Linked DNA regions of Homo sapiens: regions 1 and 2 are each linked to region 3. Evidence: promoter capture Hi-C in human tissues and cell types (Jung and others, 2019). All regions are on one chromosome and are shown on one strand. Each heading gives the region's core, a stretch centred on a gene start or on the middle of the fragment in contact. The rest is flanking DNA. Distances are from core to core; before and after follow the strand shown. Region 1 has its middle 7.7 kb from the start of ZNF181. Region 2 holds the start of ZNF527 (zinc finger protein 527). Region 3 holds the start of OVOL3 (ovo like zinc finger 3).

The links. Contacts are between HindIII fragments. The study calls those that stand out against the background at their distance.
Region 1: a contact is called between a fragment that was not itself captured here and the fragment with the promoter of OVOL3 in region 3, in 1 of the 25 tissues and cell types used here (bladder).
Region 2: the fragment with the promoter of ZNF527 here is called in contact with the fragment with the promoter of OVOL3 in region 3 in 1 of the 25 tissues and cell types used here (dorsolateral prefrontal cortex).

Annotation. Positions count from the first base shown.
Region 1 is chr19:34,725,192-34,727,891 of GRCh38, forward strand. No RefSeq gene overlaps it. Among named protein-coding and RNA genes, the nearest start is that of ZNF181, 7.7 kb to the right of the region's middle. The HindIII fragment of the contact is 8,763 bases long and covers 1-2,700 here.
Region 2 is chr19:37,369,787-37,372,486 of GRCh38, forward strand. It overlaps ZNF527 (zinc finger protein 527), which reads left to right and starts at 1,313. Exons shown (of 5, transcript NM_032453.2): 1 at 1,313-1,440. RefSeq lists enhancers at 683-822, 843-892, 1,063-1,372 and a silencer at 1,403-1,712. The HindIII fragment of the contact is 11,070 bases long and covers 1-2,700 here.
Region 3 is chr19:36,109,880-36,112,579 of GRCh38, forward strand. It overlaps OVOL3 (ovo like zinc finger 3), which reads left to right and starts at 1,264. Exons shown (of 4, transcript NM_001302757.2): 1 at 1,264-1,417; 2 at 1,490-1,554. The coding sequence starts at 1,324. It also overlaps a transcript of WDR62 not described here. RefSeq lists enhancers at 863-1,493, 1,494-2,123. The HindIII fragment of the contact is 22,945 bases long and covers 1-2,700 here.

The DNA of each region.
Region 1 (2,700 bases), core at 64-2,563, 1.4 Mb before region 3:
CTCACTCCTGCCTGGAAAGGACCTCATACTGTCATCCTCACCACGCCAACAGCTCTGAAAGTAGACAGCATTCCGGCTGGATTCATCACTCTCGCATCAAGAAGACCAACAAAGCCCAGCAAGAAACATGGGTCCCCAAGCCTGGGACAAGCCCCTTAAAACTGCGCCTAAGTTGAGTGAAGCCATTAGATTAATTCTTTATCTCTTTTGTTTCCACCTGTCATGCCCTCTGCTCCTTCCTACTCTTTTCTCCTTACTTCTTTCACGACAGGACTGTGTTTGCAAACACCACCTGGAAGGCAGGAACCTCTGAGGAAGTCTTTTTTGCAGTGATTTATGTGCTCTGTTCCCAGAGCCTGCCCATACTCTCGAAGAGCAACACAATCTGCCGATCATAGGAGCAGGGAACGTTGACCTTGCTGCAGGGTTTGGACACTCCGGAAGCCAGACAGGATGTGGGAGCTCCAAAGGTGCAGAAAAAGGACTCCAGAATGTTGACTTTTACCTCTGTCCTCGAAATCACCCTAACTCTAGTTGTTGAGATTCTTACCAGTTTTTCTGCCCTGACTGGACATGTGTAACTTTGGCCACCTACTCTGGGGGATCAACCCGATCTTCAACCCTTTCCATAGCTTGTGCTTCCTGTCCTAAACTGTGGACTAAGAGAAATTGTAATCCCCTTACTATAACTGTTCATAATCCTAATTTAGCTCAATGGAATTATGGCATGTCTTGGGATTAAGGCTTTATATCCCAGGATTTGATGTTGGAACTATGTTCACCATCCAAAAAAAAAAAAATCCTGGTCCCATGGAGCCCTCCTAAGCCAATCGGGCCTTTAACTGATTTAGGTGACCCTGTGTTCCAAAAATACCCAGACAGTGTCAACTTAACTGTCCCGCCGCCTTTCCTGGTTCCTAAACCTCAGCTGCAACAACAACACCTCCAACCCAGCCTGATGTCCATTCTGGGCAGGGTACATCACCTCCTCAATCTCACCCAGCCTAAACTAGCCTGAGATTGTTGGTTGTGCCTAAAGGCCAAACCCCCTTATTATGTTGGATTAGGAGTAGAAGCCATGCTTAATATTGACTCTCTTTCTTGTCATACATGCCCCTGTGCCCTCACACTAGGAGACGTGTCCGGGAATGCTTCTTGTCTAATTAGCACTGGATATAATTTATCTGCTTCTCCCTTTCAGGCTACCTGTTATCAGTCTTTACTTACTTCCTTAAGCACCTCAGTCTCCTACCAGGCACCTAACAATACCTGGTTAGCCTGCACTTCAGGTCTCACTCGCTGCATCAATGGGACTGAACCAGGACCTCTCTTGTGTGTGTTGGTTCATGTGCTCCCCCAGGTCTACGTATACAGTGGGACAGAAGGACAACTTCTCATCACTCCCCCTGAATTGCATACCAGGTTTTGCCGAGCCGCCCTACTCCTTGTACCCCTCCTGGCCGGCCTAAGCACAGCTGGGTTGGTAGCCATCAGCATGGCTGCCTTCATTCAGGGAGAAACTGGACTAATGTCCCTATCTCAACAAGTAGATGCTGATTTAAGCCATCTCCAATCAACCATAGATATACTCCATACCCAAGTAGAGTCTCTAGCTAAAGTAGCTCTTCAAAACCGCTGAGGCTTATATCTGCTATTTGTCTCTCAAGGAGGGTTATGCACAGCTCTGGGAGAGAGTTGTTGCTTCTGTGCCAGTCAGTCTGGGGTCATAAAAGATACTCTCCAAAAAGTTCAAGAGAATCTAGATAGACACCAGCAGGAGCGGGAAAATAACACCCCCCTGGTACCAAAGCATGTTTAACTGGAATCCATGGCTAACTACTCTAATCACTGGGTTAGCTGGACCCCTCCTCCTCCTCCTATTGTTAGGCTTAGTCTTCGAGCCTTGTATATTAAATTGGTTTCTTAACTTTGTAAAGCAATGCACAGCTTCTGTCAAGCTTATGTATCTTAAAGCCCAATATAACCCCCTTGTTAAAACTGAGTAATCAATGATTTGATTCCCCCAAAACACAAGTGGGAAATGTGATATCCTACCTTGTTTTAACCTGAAATTGATTCTCCCTTAGCTGAGAGAGCGGGACAGACTCCATTTTGGCTCCTTCACTTGCAGCCCCTTACCCACCCCCCTTCCTCAAGGACTTAACTTGTGCAAGCTGACTCCCAGCACATCAAAGAATGCAATTACTGATAAGATACTGTGGCAAGCTATATCCACAGTTCCCAGGAATTCACCTGGTTGATAGTACCCAAAGCCCCCGTGTCTGTGTCTGTTGATGGTACCTAAAGCACCTGTGTCTATCACCCTTTGATAGATTTAAAGCCCTTGCATCTGGAACTATTTTTCTTTCCTGTAACCATTTGTCCTTTTAACTTTTTTGCCTGTTTTACTTCTGTAAAATTGCTTCAGCTAGGCTCCCCCTCCCCTTTCTAAACCAAAGTATAAAAGAAAATCTAGCCCCTTCTTTAGGGCTGAGAGAATTTTGAGCACTAGCCATCTCTCGGTCACCAGCAATAAAAGGACTCCTGAATTAGTCTCAGAGTGTGGCGTTTCTCTACAACTCACTCGGTTACAACAGCTGGTGTTTCAGCTGATATAAGCTGGTCTTGGCTAGATAGTGAACACTCAATCTGTGGGCCTGATAGGACTTGACCCCTCCTGTAGGTTGGGCTCAAATCTGA
Region 2 (2,700 bases), core at 63-2,562, 1.3 Mb after region 3:
ATTGGTCTCCAAAATAGTTTATACATAAATGAGCCTGTCATTGACATGTAGAGACCTGGGTCAACAGTACAGATGGAGGTCCCCAGCCAGTCCCCTTCTGTTCCCACTGCCATCCTTGTCCCACATCGTAAGAGGTCTTCTATTCCCACATGTGGACACTCCAGCTTGCATATCTAAGCTCTGTCTAGCCTTACCAAATTGCTCTCATTTGGCCACATTTTGTGGATAGGCAGCACATTCCACCTTTGGAAGACAGATCAAGGGAAGGGTCTTTGGACACAGAGGAGATACAGGCTCTGGAAGCAGGCTGGAGTCCATTTGAACAGGAAATCCTGGGGATTTGGATACCCAGAGCATGGTCTGAAAGAAGGTTGTGAGATCTTTGCAGGCATGTTTCTGCCTATGGACTTTCACCAGGAAGGAAACTGCTTGACTAGAGGAGGGCCAAAGTGTGGCCTTTTGTATGTTTAATAATATTAAAATGTTAAATATATTATTTTGACCAATTGAGAAATAATAATAATAATAAAATAGGCCGGGTGCGATGGCTCATGCCTGTAACCCCAGCACTTGGGGAGGCCGAGGCAGGTGGATCACAAGTTCAGGAGATGAAGACCATCCTGGCCAACATGGTGAAACCCCATCCCTACTAAAAATACAAAAATTAGCTGGGCGTGGTGGCAGGTGCCTGTAATCCCAGCTCCTCAGGAGGCTGAGGCAAGAGAATCGCTTGAACCCGGGAGGCGGAGGTTGCAGTGAGCGCCGAGATTGCCTCAATAAAAGATACCACAGACCCCGCCCATGGCAGGAGATGGGGGTGAAGGAACAGTAAGACCAGGAGACAGTCAGATACACATCGGATCAGTGGTATCCTCACAGTAACAGAAACGGTCACCCCCAATGTCAGCCACAGTCTCTTTCATCCACAATCACTTTCACATTCAGCTACCCACAATCACGGGACGTGATTTAAAATACAGAAGCTCCCTGCACTGACAAAATCCGCCGCTCCTTTCGTCGGCAAGCATAAAGGTGTGCAGCAACAGTCACACACGAACCACCACACCCAAGCATTCAACCAGTCAGCCCCGCGCGCAGCCTGGCCGCTTTCCCCAACACAGCAGCTCAAGGTCACTGGAGAGCCTACGACCGCACACAGCCCTCTCCGGTACCTGCCCCCGTGGCGCAGGCGCGCAGTGGAGGGGGCCGCGGGGTTCTCTGGGAGATGTAGTTCAACGATGACGGCCGTGGCGCAAAGCGTTCTGGGGCTCGTGGTTCGCGGGGTCCATGGGGAACGCGGTGTCGCTGGTTCAGATCTCGCAGAGCTCAGAGTCCTGCATGCCTCAGTCCTCGCCTCGCTCCTCCTCGCGGAGGATTCTGGGAGGTGACGTCGCGGGTCTCGGTCGCGGGGCCCGTTTGCAGAGCCCGCGGCGCCGGGAGGTGAGTGGGGCCGGGCCCCGGGCGGGAGCGGGAAGTCAAGGGCGGGCTCCGGGTGGCCCGGCCGCGCCAGGGATGGGAACCCGGCAGGAGTCGCTGGGGAGGCCGTGTGTGTTTCACTGTATTACCAACTATGTGACAGGCTGCGGGTGTGACAGAATGTGATCTTGTGTCACTGTGTGTGTGTGTTTGTGCGCGTGCGCCCGCTTGTGTGTGACTGTAACCATCTGTGTCTGGGGGTGAAACTGTGAATATGTGTGTTTGTGTGTGACTGTCTCTGCAGGTGTAGCTGTGTATGTGTTTATGAGAGACTGGGGTGTGACATTGTGTGTTTGTGTAAATGCATGTGTGTGGTTATGTGACCACCTGTTTCTGCGGATACAATTGCGTTTGAATGTGTGTGACAGCAAGTGTGATTGTGCGACTATGACCATCTGTCTCCGCAGGTATAGTTTTGTATCAGTAATTGTGACAAGATGTGTGACTTCTGTGGTATGCTACTTTGTGTGTGATTGTGTGTGATTGTTTATCTCTGTTGGTGTAGTTGTATGTTACCATCTATCTTTGTGCTTATGTGGCTGTGTATTGTGTGAGATTATGGGTGTGTTTGTGTGACTCTATACATTTGTGATTGGGTGAGAATTTGTGTGTATATATGAGATTGTGGGATTGATGTATGAAGCACAGAAATATTAGAATTACCCAAGTTCACACAGTTAACAAGTGACAGCACCAGAACTCAAACCCAAGCAGTTTAGCTCTAGAGGTCTCGCTTTTTTTTTTTTTTTTCTCTTGAGATGGAGTCTCACTCTATTGCCCAGGCTGGAGTGCAATGATGCGATCTCGGCTCACTGCAACCTCCGCCTCCCAGGTTCAAGTGATTCTCCTGCCTCAGCCTCCCAAGTAGCTGGGATTACAGGCGCGCACCACCACGCCCAGCTAGTTTTTGTATTTTTAGTAGAGACGAGGTTTCACCATGTTTGGCCAGGCTGGTCTCCAACTCCTGACCTCATGATCCGCCCACCAGAGCCTCCCACAGTGCTGGGATTACAGGCGTGAGGCGCTGCGCCCTGCTGCAGTTTTTATGGACAATTTCAAGCTGCACTACACTAAGGAAATAACTGCTAGGGACTGAGTTGCCTAGTGCAAAGTAGTCCAGAATTAGGGGGTGAAATTAGGGGGTGATGTATACTGAATTCTAGGTCAACCACAGTTGTCCCTTTCTTTTCTTTTCTTTTCTTTTCTTTTTTTTTTTTTTTTTTT
Region 3 (2,700 bases), core at 14-2,513:
CCCATCTCTACAAAAAACACAAAAAATCAGCTGGGTGCAGTGGTGTGCCCCTGTAATCCCAGCTACTTGGAAGGCTGAGGCAGGAGACTCACTTGAACCCAGGAGGCGGAGGTCATAGAGGAGCCAAGATCACGCCATTGCACTCCAGCCTGGGCAACGAGCAAAACTCCGCCTCAAAAAAAAAAAATTAAAAAACAGAGCTTGGATTGCTTCTTAGTCTTCTGGCTAAGAATCAAGTGTAAAACAGCTTGGCCAGTGTGCCGGGGTAGGGTCCTGGGAGCCCCTGGCTGTGTCAAGAGACCCCCTTTGGGCCAGGTGCGGTGGCTCATGCCTGTAATCCCAGCACTTTGGGAGGCCAAGGCAGGCGGATCACTTGACGTCAGGAGTTCAAGACTAGCCTGGCCAACATGGTGAAACTCTGTCTCTACCAAAAATACAAAAATTAGCCCGGTGTGGTGGTGCATGCCTGTAGTCCCAGCTACTCAGGAGGCTGAGGCAGGAGAATCGTTTGAACCCGGGAGGTGGAGGTTCCAGTGAGCCAAGATGGTGCCACTGCACTCCAGCCTGGGCAACAAGAGTGAAACTCCGTCTCAAAAAAAGAAAAAAAAATAGGAGACCCCCTTTTACTTTCCAGACTGTGGGAGGGAGGAAGAGTGTTGTCCCAGGCAGTAACTAGGGGCTAGATTATTAACAAACTAGTATTTTAGTGCCTGCTACACCTGAACAGTGCTTCTGGCTGAATGTTAGCCCTGGGAATCTGAAGATCAGAGAGGTGGGGCATCCTACCTGAGGATGCACAGCCTGGATCCTCATTTTGCCCTGATTTATCCAGATCTGCTGTCCTCCCTGCACCCTACAGAGCAGGGCAATCACAGCAGGGGGCCCCTTCAGTGTCCTCAGACAGCTGCTGTGATTTGAATAACCAGGCAGGCTGCTGGATGTCCCCTGGTGACTGATTTGCCTGGCAAACAGACCCTCAACCCCTGGGAGACAGTCCCCCTGGGGCCTTGTTTCTTCTTCCTATCCTCAAAAGCTCCCCAGGCCCATCTCCCCTTGCCTGGCTCTGCTTGGTGGTCCTAGTGCTTGTCCACCCCTGGAGGCTGGATGGTTCCCTCCAAAACCTGGGAGAAGATGGGCAGGTCCCCAGGCAGGGGTAACCTGAGCCAGCTTAGTCCACTCCCAGGGCCAGCCAGGAAATTTGCATGAAGAGAATGAGGTTCCTCAGAGGCTTCCCCTCCTTTCCCACCAGGGATAGTCATCCTGGGGCTGAGGTCTGACAGCAGGTGGAAGCAGCCCCTGTGTGTGGAGAGCCTTCCGGAGGGCATGCCCCGCGCCTTCCTGGTCAGGAGTCGGCGTCCACAGCCCCCCAACTGGGGCCATCTGCCTGACCAGCTCCGGGGAGATGCCTATATCCCAGGTGGGCCCCTCACTGTGCCTGGAGGTAAGGGGCAGGAGAGACGCAGTGTCACCATCTGGCTTTTCTCCTCAGACTGCAGCAGCCTGGGGGGGCCACCGGCACAACAGTCGTCCAGTGTCAGGGATCCGTGGACAGCGGTGAGTGTGTAACTGGCTAGCAAAGCCAGCTGTTTCGCTCCTGCCTGCTCTCAGCCTTAATGAAGCTGACAGCCCCTTGCTCCCCCGACCCATCTGCACACGCCCTCCAGCCTCGGGACCTGTCCGCCCCTACTTCTCTGTGTTGGGAATGCCTCTCCTTTCCTAGTAGTGAGCTCTCTACTGTTAGGTCTCACCCCAGGCACCAGGGCCGGCAGCCACAGGGATCTCTTCCAGCGGGGCACAAGATTCATCCCCACATGTGGATGATCCGCTTTATGTCAGAACATGGGACAAGGCAACAGGAGTGCGATGGGAGATAAGGGCTTTTTCAGCTGTGCATGCATTGGAGGAAGGAAAGCGCCAGCCGGAATGTAATATATTCATGAAAGCAAGGCACTGTTCTAGGCATGGGCTGTTATATTCAGCGGGAATAAGACAAAAATCCACAATTTTATGGAGCTTATATTCTGGTTGGGGCTGCATGTATAGACAATAAAATTAGTCAGCCTGTAATTCCAGCACTTTGGGAGGCCGAGGCGGGTGAATCACTTGAGGTCATGAGTTCGAGACCAGGCTGGCCAACATGTTGAAACCTTGTCTCTACTAAAATTACAAACATTAGCCAGACATGGTGGCACGTGCCTGTAATCCCAGCTCCTCAGGAGGCTGAGGCAGGAGAATCAGTTGAACCTAGGAGGCAGGGCAGAGGATGCAGTGAGCCGAGTCTGCGCCACTGCACTCCAGCCTGGGAAACAGATCTAGACTCCATCCCCCCTCAAAAAAAACAATAAAATTAGAAAAATAGACCGGGCATAGTGGCTCATGCCTGTAATCCCAGCACTTTGTGAGGCCAAGGTGGGTGGATTGCTTGAGGTCAGGAATTCAAGACCAGCCTGGCCAACATGGTGAAACCCCATCTCTACAAAAAATAAAAAAATTAACTGGGCATGTGGCGCATGCCTACAATCGTGTAATCGTGGGGAGGCTGAGGCACTAGAATCGCTTGAACCCGGGAGGCGGAGGTTGCAGTGACCTGACATCATACCACTTCACTCCTGCCTGGGCGACAGAGCAAGACTCTGTCTTTAAAAAAAAAAAATGTGTATGTCACATCAGAAGATGGGACTTGGCATAGAGAAAGTAAGG